2 separate regions of the Homo sapiens genome follow, and region 1 is linked to region 2. Evidence: promoter capture Hi-C in 16 types of primary human blood cells and fetal thymus (Javierre and others, 2016). All regions are on one chromosome and are shown on one strand. Each heading gives the region's core, a stretch centred on a gene start or on the middle of the fragment in contact. The rest is flanking DNA. Distances are from core to core; before and after follow the strand shown. Region 1 overlaps OR4D2 (olfactory receptor family 4 subfamily D member 2). Region 2 holds the start of MRPS23 (mitochondrial ribosomal protein S23).

Region 1 (7,092 bases), core at 1,301-3,800, 320 kb after region 2:
TCCACCTGCACCACCCACATCATCGTGGTTTCCATGATCTTCGTTCCAAGCATTTACCTCTATGCCCGGCCCTTCACTCCATTCCCTATGGACAAGCTTGTGTCCATCGGCCACACAGTCATGACCCCCATGCTCAACCCCATGATCTATACCCTGAGGAACCAGGACATGCAGGCAGCAGTGAGAAGATTAGGGAGACACCGGCTGGTTTGAGAGTGACAATGGTAGGTTTCTTCTCTTTGGCTTTGTTTTCCCTTTGTGAAGTGGAGAGGGAGCTACTACCTTTGCTCTCTTCATAGTGTGTTGAGGTTCATCATAGCAGGGAATGAATTTTGAAACTAAGCAACTTCGTGTTTTAGGAAAAAAGAAAGTATCCTCTTTGGTGGTTAAGGTTTGTGATAAAGAGTTTTAACACACTCGCAACAATGAGAATTGTTCACATGGCCCCTGAAAACCACACCTTCCTTTTCACCTTCTTGGTGGACAGTTTCCTGTTGACAGCATTTCCCCTGTGCGAACATTTCTATTTTCCGTATTTTGAGCTCTCTTCCCAATATTTCCTTTTGGTGTGAGTCTGGGTTGTTGGGAACAGCACAGAATTTGGAGTCTTAAGCTCTAAATTAGAGGCCCTGACCCATCATTGACCAAACTGATGACTTCGAGTAAGCCACCCAGCTTTTCTTGGCCTCATGATTTCTCCCTCACCAATTTGCTTAAATTAGTATGTGCCCCTAAAATATTCTATGTTTGTTATGAGATTCAAATAAAAAAATTTTGTGATAAAACAACAAGTAAATCATATAACTATATGTTATCTTCCAAGCTTTTAAAAATGATTGTATTTTATTTTCAAATATGAAATTATTATGAGTATTCAAGCTTTTTCTCTCTATATTTACATTTTAATATAATATACAAATTTTGAATAAAAGATCATGGGCAATGCATGCACATTATGAAACTTATGTCATTATGTATAAATGCTCATGTATACACTACTCGATTCAAGAACCAGAAGTTACCAATAACTTGCCTTCACCTGTATTGTCCTCTCCATTGTGTTCACCTTGATTCCTATCCAGAAGAAATCACTCTGTTGAATTTCATGTTTATCACTTCATTGCTTGTATAAAATAGTTTCATCACTTTTTTTACATAAACAGTATATTGTTTTGCTACTTTGGAGTTTTATAAAGATATTGTACTGTACATAATATTCTGGGATTTGCTTTTTTCACTCCATGTTATGTTTCTAACATAACATGTTGATGTTTGGCTCTAATTCATTCATTTGCTCTGCTGTAGAATATTCCACTGTGAAAATAAGTTTATTTGGGTTGTTTCCAGGTTTTGGCTATTGGAGAGTGCTTTTTTTGAGACGAAGTTTCACTCTGCTGCCGAGGCCGGAGTTCACTCATCACCACACCCAGCTAAGTTTTGCATTTTCAGTAGAGATGGGGTTTCTCCATGTTGGAGTTGTGACCATTATTGCCTAAACTATTTTTACTGCGCCTTTCTCTCCTCTTCTTCCAGGATTCTCATTATGTGTGTGTCTTGGTATCCTTGATGGTGTCTCACAGGCTTCTGAGCCTATGTTCATTTTCGTTTATTCTTCTTTTTGCTCCTTAGACTGGATGATTTCAATTGACCTATAATATCTCTAGACCTCTGATTCCGAAATGCCATCATAGAGGAAAATTGGATTCACTCCCCGACTTCCACAGAACCAAAAACAAATATATAGCACTGAGATCTACACCAGAAACAACCCAGAGCTCAAGTATAAGAGTGAGACAGTTCTTGGGGCCACAGAGGGATGAAAAAAGTCCAAGCAGCTGATAGGAGAATCAGACTTCCACATCTGGGACACCCCTCATCCCCATTCTGTCCAGCACCAAGTGCCAAAAAATCTCCTCCCAACTACAGTTTCTACACTGGAAAAACTGAAATTGAGGTGGCCCACCAGCTTCCTTACCTTCTTGGGGTCCCTGGCAGGAGAACTGTTCTTGCCTTAATCCACAGATAGCATCATGACTGCCTGAAAGAAGAAATGTCCCCGAAGAAAGGCAGAGAAATTCTGCTCTGTAACTCAGCCAAAGGAGACACCAACTCAGAGTTGCTGTCCAGCAGCACCATGCTGTAGGAGGCATGTTCCCCAGGTCCCCTGGGCACAAACCCCTAGCCAGACTTCCCACACTGCCAGGATAATCTCTTTGGGATCTCCTTGATTTGAGACAGGAAGTGCTTCAACCATTTACTAGTCCTGAGGTGAACCTGGGCTTAAGGCACCACCTAGAGTCGAATAGAGGCAGTGACCTAGCAGTGAAGATTCAATAAGCAAATGTATTCAATAAAAACCAAAACAAGCTGTACAGAGAAAACTGGAAAGATGGATACATACCCACAAGAAACAACAGCAAACAGGGAACTATGACTTCCTCAAAAGGAAAAAGCAAAAATCCAGTCACTGATCCTAACAAGATGGTGATTAGTGAGCTCTCTGACCAAGAATTCAAAATAGGAGTTTCAAGGAAACTCACTGATCTCCAAGAAAACACAGAAAAGCAATTTAGAAATTTAACAAAGAGACTGAAATGATTCCAAAATGTCAAACAGAAATCTTGGAACTCAACTAACCTATCTTCAGATTCATTGATTTTATTTTTATTTTTTAAGACAGTCTCACTCTGTTGCCCAGACTGGAGTGCAATGGTGTGATCTTGGCTCACTGCAACCTCCGCCTTCCAGTTTCAAGCAATTCTCCTGCCTCAGCCTCCTGAGTAGCTGGGGCTACAGGCGCGTGTCACCACACCCAGCTAATTTTTGTATATTTAGTAGAGACAGGGTTTTACCATGTTGGCCAGGCTGGTCTTGAACTCCTGACCTCGTGATCAACCCGCCTCGGCCTCCCAAGGTGCTGGAATTACAGGTGTAAGCCACCAGGCCCAGCTGATTCTTTCTTCTACCTACTCGAAAGCTCCTATTGAAACCGTCCTGTGAACTTTTCATTTCAGTTACTTTTATTGTACTTTTCAGCTCCAGACTATTTCTTATTTTAAATCAATTTCTCTCTCTTTTTTGATATTTTCTATGTAAAACATTCTTCTTCCTTTAATTCTTTACCCATAGTTTACTCTATGTTCAAGAAAGTTGCTTTAAAGTCTTTGTCTAGTTAAGTCAAATGTCTGTTTTTTCTCAGGAAGTTTCTGCTAATTTCTTTTCTTCCCTTGAAAGGGCCATACTCTCTTGTTTGTTTGCATGTCTCATAATATTTTGTGAAAACCGCACATTTTAAATATTATAATGTTGTAGGAGTGGAAATAATTTTCTTCCTGCTCCCTATTATTTGTTGTTTTTTCTTGCTGTGAGTTGCAGTTGTTTGTTTAGTGACTTTTAAAACTTTTTTTTTTGTCAAATATGGCCTCTGAAATCTGTTTCCTTAGTTCATAGTCATCTAATGGCTTTACAGTAACTTTGTTAAATGCCTGTAGACAAATGATATGGCTTGGACCTGTGTCCCATGAAATCTCATGTGGAATTATAATCCCCAGTGTTGGAGGTGATGCCTGGTGGGAGGTGATTAGATCATGGGGATGAATTTCTCACGAATAGTTTAGCACCATCCTTCCCTTGGTACTGACCTTGCAATAGTGTGTGAGTTCTCATGAGATCTGGTCATTTAAAAGTGTGTGGTGCCTCCCTCTTACTCTCTCTTCCTCCTGCTCCAGCCATGTGAAGTGCCTGCTCCCACTTCACCTCCCACCATTATTGTAAGTTTCCTGAGGCCTCCCCAGAAGCCAAACAGATGCCAGCATTATGCTTCCTGTACAGCCTGCACAATCATGAGCCAATTAAACCTCTTTTCTTTATAAATTACGAGTCTTAGTCTCAGATATTTCTTTATAGCAATATGAGAATGAACTAATACAACAAAGAAATGAAAAAGAAAGAAAATATACTCTCCCAGTCTTTCCAGATTGGCTCTGTGTTTGGATACTCCCTCAACACTTAACAAGGATGTTTACAGCTCTGCCTTAGCCTTCACTTTCTGCTTGCATTGGGCCTAAAGATTAGCCAGAACTTATATCTTAGGACTGTCCCAAGTCTGTGTTTTCATCCTGCCCTTATATGCAGAATGTGGCATTCTAGATTTCATAGTATATACAGGAACTTTCCAAAGTTCTTATTCACCAAAGTATCTCTGTTCCTAACTTTTCCTCTCAAGCTTTTGGTGTGTGTTTGATTGCCCCAGGTGGCAGAGGCGTGCTCATTTGATTTTCAGTGTTTTTGAGGAATACTTTTTACGTAGCCACTTTTCTGCCCATAGTGAATTCTGAGTTAGGTAAAACAAAGGCAAGCTCCTCACATCAGTCCTTCAGGAACCCCCAGACATTTCAAAACAGACAATACAATCCTAGGGAACAAGGTTCATTCTGCTCCTTCCGGAACCAGGGACTCACACCAGGAACATACATTGCCATCTTCAAGACCACCAAGCTGGGAGGAGTGTGGAACAACAATAAGTTAAAAGTTTTCCTACTGTGTTTCAGTCACCTTTTGAAACAAAGTTCATTTAGTTGCTATTTGACTATTTTCTTTGACAATTTTCCAGAATTCCAACAAGGTTGATTCTGATCACTTCTGCTTTTATTTTTTTTTTTTCCTTTCTATGGAGAGATGAGCCCTCGGATTCCCAGACTGCTATTTTTATGACATCATCATATTTAAGATAATAATTTATGTAATTCACTTCTCTATGCAACCAGTCTTTCCTAGTCACTCCATATCTGTTTCCATTCCTTCACCAGATACTTTCCTCACTCCGCTTGGGCTCTGATATCCTGCTTCAGGCCAGCGCCCTTCCCAGCCACTTTTCTTACCCCACACATGCTCCAACATCCCACATCAGGACACTTTCCATGCTCCTCCTCATTTTGCTTGAGCTCCAACACCTGATGTCCAACTGCACCTCTGTGTGGATGCATTTCTTAGCCCTCCCATGCTCTGACTCCCCATAGTGAGTCAGCCCTTGCTGGGATACCCTCTTCACCTTGCTTTAACACCCACAATGGGCAGCTCACAGGAGTAGACACCCAGGCTCTGACAACCCATGCTGGGCCACATCCTATGGACACCTTATTCACACTATTTTTGTTCTACATTAAGAGGAGATTTCTCCAACTCTGATTTCCAACATTTTTATTAAAGTTTTTATTTTTTAAATCAAATTTTAGTTTTCAAGAACTCTTGCATGTTCTCCTTTTTATGCCATTCTATTCTTATTTTGTGGATATTATATTTTCTTTCTTCTCTCAAATGATACTAATTTCATAAGCTGAAGTTTTTTTAAGTTCTCTTTTGCTTTCTGTGTCACTTCTGTTTTCTTCTTATTTATTTATTATTTTGTACTGGAGACCTTTCTTAAACTCTCAGTGATCTTTGGTTAGCTACATTTAAGAGTAAGGCAATAAAATGCTGATTTGAACCTCTATATATGGGAAGAGTTTTCAAACTTTACTTTTTTTTTTTTTTTTGAAACAGGATCTTACTCTGTCACTCAGGCTGCAGTACAGTGGTGCAATCATGACTTACTGCAGCCTTGACCTCCTGGACTCAAGTAATCCTCCCACCTTAGCCTCTCGAATAGCTGGGGCTACAGGTGCACACCACCATGCCCAGCTAATTATTTTAACTTTGTTAAGAAGTTTCTAAGACTCTCAAAAACACTTACCATTAGAGAGGTCTGCCAAGGACATTGAAAATCACAGAGATCTATGAAATGTAGGATAAGCAGGTCAAGATCAGAAAGGACAAAAGTATCCTCACAAGAAACAAATTTTGGAAGGACCTGTTGCAGTGCACACTGGTTCACGTGTGTGAGCGTACATCAGAATCAACCGAGAGGGCTTGCTAAAACTTGGAAACCCAATGCAGAGCTTCTGATTTAATAGGTCTTGGGTAGAGCCCGAGAATATGCATTTCCAGCACGTTGTTGGGTGATGCTGATATTGCTTATCTGGGGGCCACAGTTTGAGACTGCTGATTTCAAGTTTCGTTGTGCTGTGTTCTTCAGCACAACGGACAGCTCTCTCACACAGCACCAGAGACAACTTGTTTGATTTCTTTAAAAAAAAAATTTTTCAACTTGGGCAATGTAATAGGTGGGGAAATGTTTGTATATTATATTGGAAACTTAAATCCTCTAAACTTTTTTTTTATTCTACCAACCAGACCCCAAGGGCGATTTCTAATCCATAACCATTTTTACAGCACCATCTGTAAAATTCTGTGCAGCCAATAGGGGTTTCTTTTTCTGTGAATTTAAAGACAACAATTATTAAGAATGGATTTTTATGATCACCATGCTTGAGCAATGTTAGAGATAAAATACTCCTCCTTGCCTTGTGGATTTGCTCCCACCGCCCTGCCGTTCACGAGCTGTGTGTGTGTGCTGCAGAGGGGATCTGAGTAAGCAAGGAAAGAATCAGAATTGGATGGGTGAAGCCCAGAGGCCTCCTGAGAGAGGGAAGCATGAGGAGTGGGGAGAGGGGCTCCATGCCCTCTGACTGAACAGGTGTCAATCAAGCAGCGAGACTGCGAGTGACCACTGAGGTGAAGGCTGAGGGGGAGGAGGAGTTTGAGCTGGAGCCCAGACTCTGATGACAGGGAGTATACAGGGGGAGCCCCTGGACAGCCCTCCAGGAACTCGGAAGTGGGGCCCATGGGCTGTTAGGCCTGGCCCCACAGCTGACAGAAAAGCCATGAAGACCTGGAGCCTGGCTGCTTTGCAGTGAGAGCTCAGAGGGAAGGAGATATCGCTTTCTCTTTTCCTCCTCCCCACACCAACACCAGGCAAGAGGTGCTGGAAAGAAGGAGGAAGAAGTGTTAGAGAGCAGAGTCCTGCACCACCAACCACGCTCCACCCTCGGAGGCCTGGGCCACAGCCTCCCAAGTTGAGGGACAAGGTGGACTTGGAGTCGAATGTAAGAAGGGCATTTTCACTAAATAGGACAGTCTTAAAAACTGGAATGAAACTGGTGACTATTGAAATAAAAGTGATGAAAAGTGTATAGGACTGGACTGAGCTGCTGT
Region 2 (6,624 bases), core at 2,152-4,651:
GCTGTGTCCACTCAGGGTTAAATGGATTAAGGGCGGTGCAAGATGTGCTTTGTTAAACAGATGCTTGAAGGCAGCATGCTCGTTAAGAGTCATCACCACTCCCTAATCTCAAGTACCCAGGAACACAAACACTGCGGAAGAACGCAGGGACCTCTGCCTAGGAAAACCAGACACCCTTGTTCACATGTTTATCTGCTGACCTTCCCTCCACTATTGTCCTATGACCCTGCCAAATCCCCCTCTCCGAGAAACACCCAAGAATGATCAATAAATACTATAAAAAATAAAAAATAATAAAAATAAATTAAAAATAAAAAATAAAAAAAAGAAAAAATAGAGAACTTTAAAGATATTTTTAAGAATGTTGCTAGGAGGCCGGGCACGGTGGCTCACACCTGTAATCCCAACACTTTGGGAGGCAAGGCGGGCGGATCACGAGGTCAGGAGTTTGAGACCAGCCTGACCAACATGGTGAAACCCCATCTCTACTAAAAATACAAATTAGCCAGGCATGGTGGCGTGAGCCTGTAATCCCAGCTACTCAAGAGGCTGAGGCAGGAGAACAGCTTGAACCCGGGAGGTGGAGGTTGCATGGGGCTGAAATTACACCACTGCACTCCAGCCTGGGTGGCAGAGCGAGACTCCATCTCAAAAAAAAAAAAAAAGAATGTTCCTAGGCAACCATTAGGAGCACATTTTCTGTGACTATTTAAGTTTTGGAAAAAAAGAGAATAAAGAGGCCGGGCGCGGTGGCTCACGCCTGTAATCCCAGCACTTTGGGAGGCCGAGGCAGGCGGATCACGAGGTCAGGAGATTGAGACCATCCTGGCTAACACGGTGAAACCCTGTCTCTACTAAAAATACAAAAAATTAGCCAGCTGTGGTGGTGGGCGCCTGTAGTCCCAGCTACTCAGGAGGCTGAGGCAGGAGAATGGCATGAACCCGGAAGGCAGAGTTTGCAGTGAGCCGAGATTGCGCCACTGCACTCCAGCCTGGGAGACAGAGTGAGACTCCATCTCGAAAAAAAAAAAAATACTTAGATCAGAAAAAAACAAAACTTTTTTTTTTTTTGGAGACAGGGTCTCCCTCTGTTGCCCAGGCTGGAGTGCAGTGGTGCACTCTCAGCTCACTGCAACCTCCACCTTCTAGTTTCAAGCGATTCTCCCACCTCAGCATCCAAAGTAGCTGGGACTACAGGTGCCCACCACCAAGCCCGGCTAATTTTTGGTATTTTAGTCAAGACAGGGTTTCACCATATTGCCCAAGGTGGTCTCGAACTCCTGAGCTCAGGCAATCTGCCCACCTCAGCCTCCCAAAGTGCCAGGATTACAGGCGTGGGCCACCGTGCCTGGCCCAGAAAAAAAAAATTCTTAAATAATCATTATCAATACTGACAAGGATAAAGTAAGAACTCTCAGAAACTGCTAATCAGAGTGTAAACTAAGACAACTACTTTTTTTTTGGTAGAGACAAGTCCTGCTATGTTGCCCAGGGTGGTCTCAAACTCCTGGGCACAAGCTATCCTCCCTTATGCCTCCCAAAGCACTAGGATTACAGGCACAAGCCACCACATCCAGCCTGTGATTTCTTTTTATGCTTTCTTTGTGTATCTAAATTTTCTACAAGTAGCATGTGTTGCTTTTATAATAAAAGAGGAAGTATTCTTGCCACTGAGCTTAAGAAAAAGAAAAAAAAAGAGAAAAGGGATGCTAAAAAAAAATAAAGAACACATGATTTTCCTTCAAATTCCTAGTGATTGTCTCTCTCTGTCGCCCAGGCTGGAGTGCAGTGGTGGGATCTCGGCTCACTGCAACCTCCACCTCCCAGGTTCAAGCAATTCTCCTGTCTCAGCCTTCCGAGTAGCTGGGACTACAAGCACCCACCACCATGCCCGGCTAATTTTTGTATTTTTAGTAGAGACGGGGTTTCACCATGTTGGTCTGACTGGTCTCGAACTCCTGACTTCAGGTGATCCGCCCGCCTTGGCCTCCCAAAGTGTTGGGATTACAGGCGTGAGCCACCGCACCCGGCCTCTCTTAGACTTTCAAGCATCCTTTCATCTGAGTGGCTTCAAAGAGCCGGACTACTAGATCCACAGACCACGTTCCTCCTATCTCCACTCGTGGAGAAGGCCGGCATAATGATCACCATAAGCTTGGAGTCAGAGATGTGATTCCCAGATCTGCCACCCTCCTATATATTTAGTAATTACAAGAAGTTAGCTAATTTCCTTGAGCTTCGCAGTCTCCTTGAATAAAATGGAAACAAGAATGCCTTCCTTACAAGTTAGAGTAAGGCCTTTAGAGAATGAGATAATGCTTGCAAAGAGCTTAGTACAGTGCCTGGCCCAAAGCAGATGCCCAGAAACATGCGGCTATAATTGCAATGATCTTTCGGTTGCTGGGCTCCAGATTCCACTTTTCAGAACTTCAGTTTCACTATGAGGAAGGGGTGCTGCCTCCCTAATTTGGCTAGATAAGCCTTCTCCACAGGGCAAACCCCTGACTCAATTTCATGTTTGAATTCCCAGACTGCTACCGAAACCTTCCCTTCTGAAGTTCTGTTGCCTCCTGTCCACTACAGGGCTGAGCACTCACGCTCTAATCCGATCCTCGTGGTACCAGATGTCTTGGATGGGAGCTTTGGCTTTGCCATATCGCACTCGAGGCCTTTGGAAGACGGGCTCCCTCAGCGGGGGAAAGGCGTCATATACGTCAAACCACAGGGGCTTCTCCTTCAGCACCCCGGCCCGAACCAGGTCCCGAGTCCTTAGGGAGGGAACAGAACGAAACTGGGTCACTTGCAGTAGCCTGCCAAAGCCCCTGAATCAGTCTAGCACAGTTTGGGACATTAAAGGTATTATGCGGTCTGCAACACAGAACGGGGAAGGACTGCTCCCCACCTACAGAGAAGATCTGTCCACATCCCAAACCAAACTTAACAACGCTCAGGAGAGTTAAATCCCTCTATCTTCTTTTGTGCGTCCCACCCACGTTCGGTCACGGAAAAATGCAAAGAGCGGTCTTGCATGACCTGATAAGGAAGGCCCATCAGGCTCTTCCTCCCTTCCTCTTCCTAGAGACCTCCACTCGGGGAGAGGCAGCTGCAATAATCTTTAACATGACACATAAATTCAAGGAGAGGCATCCTCAGGCACAACTATTCGGAGCCAGGAGAAAACATGAGAGGGCCTCACCCAGCTCAGCCCCCGCACCCTGCAATACGCCTCGCCCTGCTCAGGTCCGCTCCAAGGAAGAGCGTGACCGGCTGAGAACCCCAGCCTGGGGGAGGCACCCTCAGCCCACCACGGCTGGGAGCACACACCGAGAGAAGATGCTCCCTACGGTTTCCAGCCGGCTGCCTGCCATGATCTGCGCCTGGTACCGAGCGTGACTAGCTGCTACCGGAACCGGAAGCGGCTGCTCCAGGTAAAGGGCGCATAAGTTGCTGGCCGAGCCAAGGATCGCTGGGCTTTCACCGCAGCCCCTGCGGGAGAGCGGCGCAGGCAGAAGCAAGTGATAGGCCGAACGGGCGCGCTCCGAGGTTACTTGCCAGGTTCAGGCAGGAGCACTCGATAGCCGAGCCAAAAGGGCAGGAGCGAGCCAAAGCCGGACAGAAGTAATAAATGACCGAGCTGTGGGAGGGATTCATCATGATGGTTGCTTTACTCTCTCTCGCCTTGTTGAGCCAACTCCTCTGAAAAGGTGGGGCCGCGCGGAGGAGAAGTAGTGGGGCAGAGCAGGGGTGAAGCGCAGCCTACAGTCCTAGGGGAGCCAACAAAGGCCGAGATTTGAGGTCACCAGCTCTAGGCCCAGGCTGAGCCTAATGTTGTTTAGAGTCACAGACTACGCAGAAGAAAACCAAGGCCGGGGAGGGGCCGTCACTTGCCCAGCGTCGTGCTAGATCTCGGGCCTCCGCCTCTGGCTGTGTAGTGCTCCCCACTAAGCCCCTCGTCCCCGGAGTGCCACCTGCATCCACGCTAACTAGGATGCTGGCTGCAACTCGTGTTTCCCGCGGCCGGTGTCGCGGGCTACCTCCTCCTTGGAACTCGAAAAGTGAAAGTGTCCGGAACAAACAGACGCCGAGAGGGAAACGAAAAAATCTGGAGAAAGTCATCTCTCAGTGTTAAACTGTAAAAAAATATAAACTGTGTGTAGCATACCCTTTGACCCAGTAATCATATTTCGGGGAAAGAACCCCTTAGAAATTAAAGCATCAATTCATGAGGATGTTTGTGCAAGGATCATCGTTGCAGCATTGTTTGTAGTGGGAAAAAAAATCCATCAGATGAGAAATAGCTGGAAAATTATTGTTCATACTTTCTTTGGAACCCTATGCAGCTATTAAAATGAATGAGCTAGATCCACATGTATTTACCAAGGTTAAGGTACATGACTTATGTTTAAATGAAAAACGAAGTTGCAAAGAAACATGTTTAGTGGAATCTCAACGTGTTAGAAAAAAAAAAGGAAAAAGAAACACCTCTATATATGTTTGTGTTTGAGGATAGAAATTCTGCAGAAGGACACCCAAGGCTGTGAACATTGGATATCTCGGAGTGAAACTGCAGGCAGGCAAGGGAGAATTTTTTCTTCCTTTACACATGCTTCAGAGTTTGACTTGTAAAGAGATTGTATTCATATTTGAACTTTTAATCCAATGAATGTTTTGAATCACACACAATGTCTCCTGGGAGCCTAGTCAAGTCATCCTAGAGTCCTCCCACTCTGAGGCTGGTGAAGGGGAGGACGGGACTGTTTGATGAGTAGTTACTGCTTGTGTGTGTTATCTTACTGAATCCACATACCTTCCCATAAGGTAGCTATTAACATCCTCATTATAGATGAGAAAGCAAGGCCTCAGGAAGTTACATAACTTGTCTGATAAGCAACTGATAGAGCCAGCCTTGGGGGGGTGGGGCAGCCAGGGCCCTTTCCAGTGCCTCACAATGCCGCCTAAGCTATGCCTAAAGCTCGAGGCTGGTAGGCTCAAGAGTCCAGCAGAACGCCGCTCCCCACCCGCCCCCCCCACAACACACACACACACACACACACACACACACACACACACGCACGCCAGGGATCCAGTGATTTGAGGCCCAGGGCTAACCTGAGGTGGATTTCACTGCTGCCTCCAGACCCTCTGGAACAGAGAAGAGAGAGCACAGCTCTGGCCCCAGGCCAGGTGTAAAGGCTCTAGTATCCCAGCCCTCAGGAGGTCTAAAAGACCTTGCTCTGGGGAGAGTAAACATGCTCCCAGCTAAATATAGTCTTCCCAGGCCTCATAACAACTTTCTAATTCTGTCCCAGCCAGCAAGCACTATCTGCCAGCCCAGATTACAGGCACACTTCTCTTCTCCCACCAGGAACTGCTACTGTAGGTTAGTGCAGTCACTGCAGCTAAAGAGTTAAAGGGTTTATTCCAAGATCAAGGAGGGGAACCAAAGACGCAAACCCTCAATAGGGGAAGAACTGCAAGGCAGAAATGTTCTCGCTAATCTTGGGGTGGTCCCTTCCTCTTCCAAGCCTTTGAAGTTTCCCTTTCCAGCCTGCTTCTGTGACTGAGAGCAGAATATTGGTGGGCAGACTTGGGGGTACTTTGGGGATAACAGCCTTCTGAGGCTACACAAGAAGTACACACCCAAGAAACATTCATTCATAATACAGGAGCAAGCTGTCGGGCAGCAGGGGGCAGGCAGAATGGACATTTGAGGCTGTCTTCTTGAGTGGGGACCACAGCCGCCCAAGGCTGTGAGGGCCTGGGGCACTTACACCACGCACCACTGTGCCGCGGGAGGTACCAAGGAACCTCAAGTGTCTCATTCAGTTGTTCAACCACCTGCTGACATAGGTAATGTCCTGCTAATCTTACAGATAAGGAAGTGGTGCTTGTAAACTCCCAAAGGCCATGTTCCTACAACACCACTCGGCCTCATATTAATCCCACTGTCTCATTGTAGACGTGCCCACTAATTGCTTCACTCTGAGCAAGTTATGTAACTTTTCGAGCCTCTGTTTCTCCAACTGTTAAAATGTGGAGCTGGGCTCAGTGGCTCATGCTTGTAATCCCAACATTTTGGGAGGCCAGTGTGGGAGGATTGCTTAAGCCAGGAGATCAAAACCAGCCTGGGCAAAATTAGCCAGGTGTGGTGGTGCATGCCTGTAATCCCAGCTACTCAGGGGACTGAGGTGGGAGGATGGCCTGAGCCCAGGAGTTCAAGGCTGCAGTGAGCCATGATCACACCACTGCACTCCAGCCTGGTCAACAGAGCCAAGACCCTGTCTCAAATAATAATAATAATAATAATAATAATAATAATAATAATCTGGATGGCAGTGTCAACTATCTTCGTGGCTTGTTGCAAAAGTAAAAGAGATCATTCATGTAAAGCACTAATCACGGCACCTGGGACATAGTGAGTGCCTGTGAGCAGCAACAAGCCTGATGGCTGTAACAGCAACACGATTGCTGTTGTGCTGTGTCATCCACCCATTGCCACCTGGACTGCAGCATTTTGATAATATTTCATAGATTGCCTTACTGTTTTACTTTCTTGTTAGATGATCCGTTCGTTCCAGAAGCATATAAACACCTACCTGACTATTCTGAGTCTTAGAGAATCCA

Evidence for each region. The method cuts DNA at HindIII sites, captures the fragments that hold promoters and counts their contacts. A CHiCAGO score of 5 or more calls a contact.
Region 1: a fragment that was not itself captured here is called in contact with the fragment with the promoter of MRPS23 in region 2 in 1 of 17 cell types (total CD8 T cells); the score reaches 5.4 in total CD8 T cells.

What each region holds. Positions count from the first base shown.
Region 1 is chr17:58,170,367-58,177,458 of GRCh38, forward strand. OR4D2 (olfactory receptor family 4 subfamily D member 2) reads left to right here. Exons shown (of 2, transcript NM_001004707.4): 2 at 1-750. The coding sequence ends at 213. Among named protein-coding and RNA genes, the nearest start is that of OR4D2, 6.9 kb to the left of the region's middle. RefSeq lists a silencer at 5,929-6,129. The HindIII fragment of the contact is 3,346 bases long and covers 878-4,223 here.
Region 2 is chr17:57,846,643-57,853,266 of GRCh38, forward strand. It overlaps MRPS23 (mitochondrial ribosomal protein S23), which reads right to left and starts at 3,402. Exons shown (of 5, transcript NM_016070.4): 1 at 3,325-3,402; 2 at 2,598-2,768. The coding sequence starts at 3,368. RefSeq lists enhancers at 1-197, 3,383-3,712, 3,388-3,897. The HindIII fragment of the contact is 6,704 bases long and covers 2,153-6,624 here.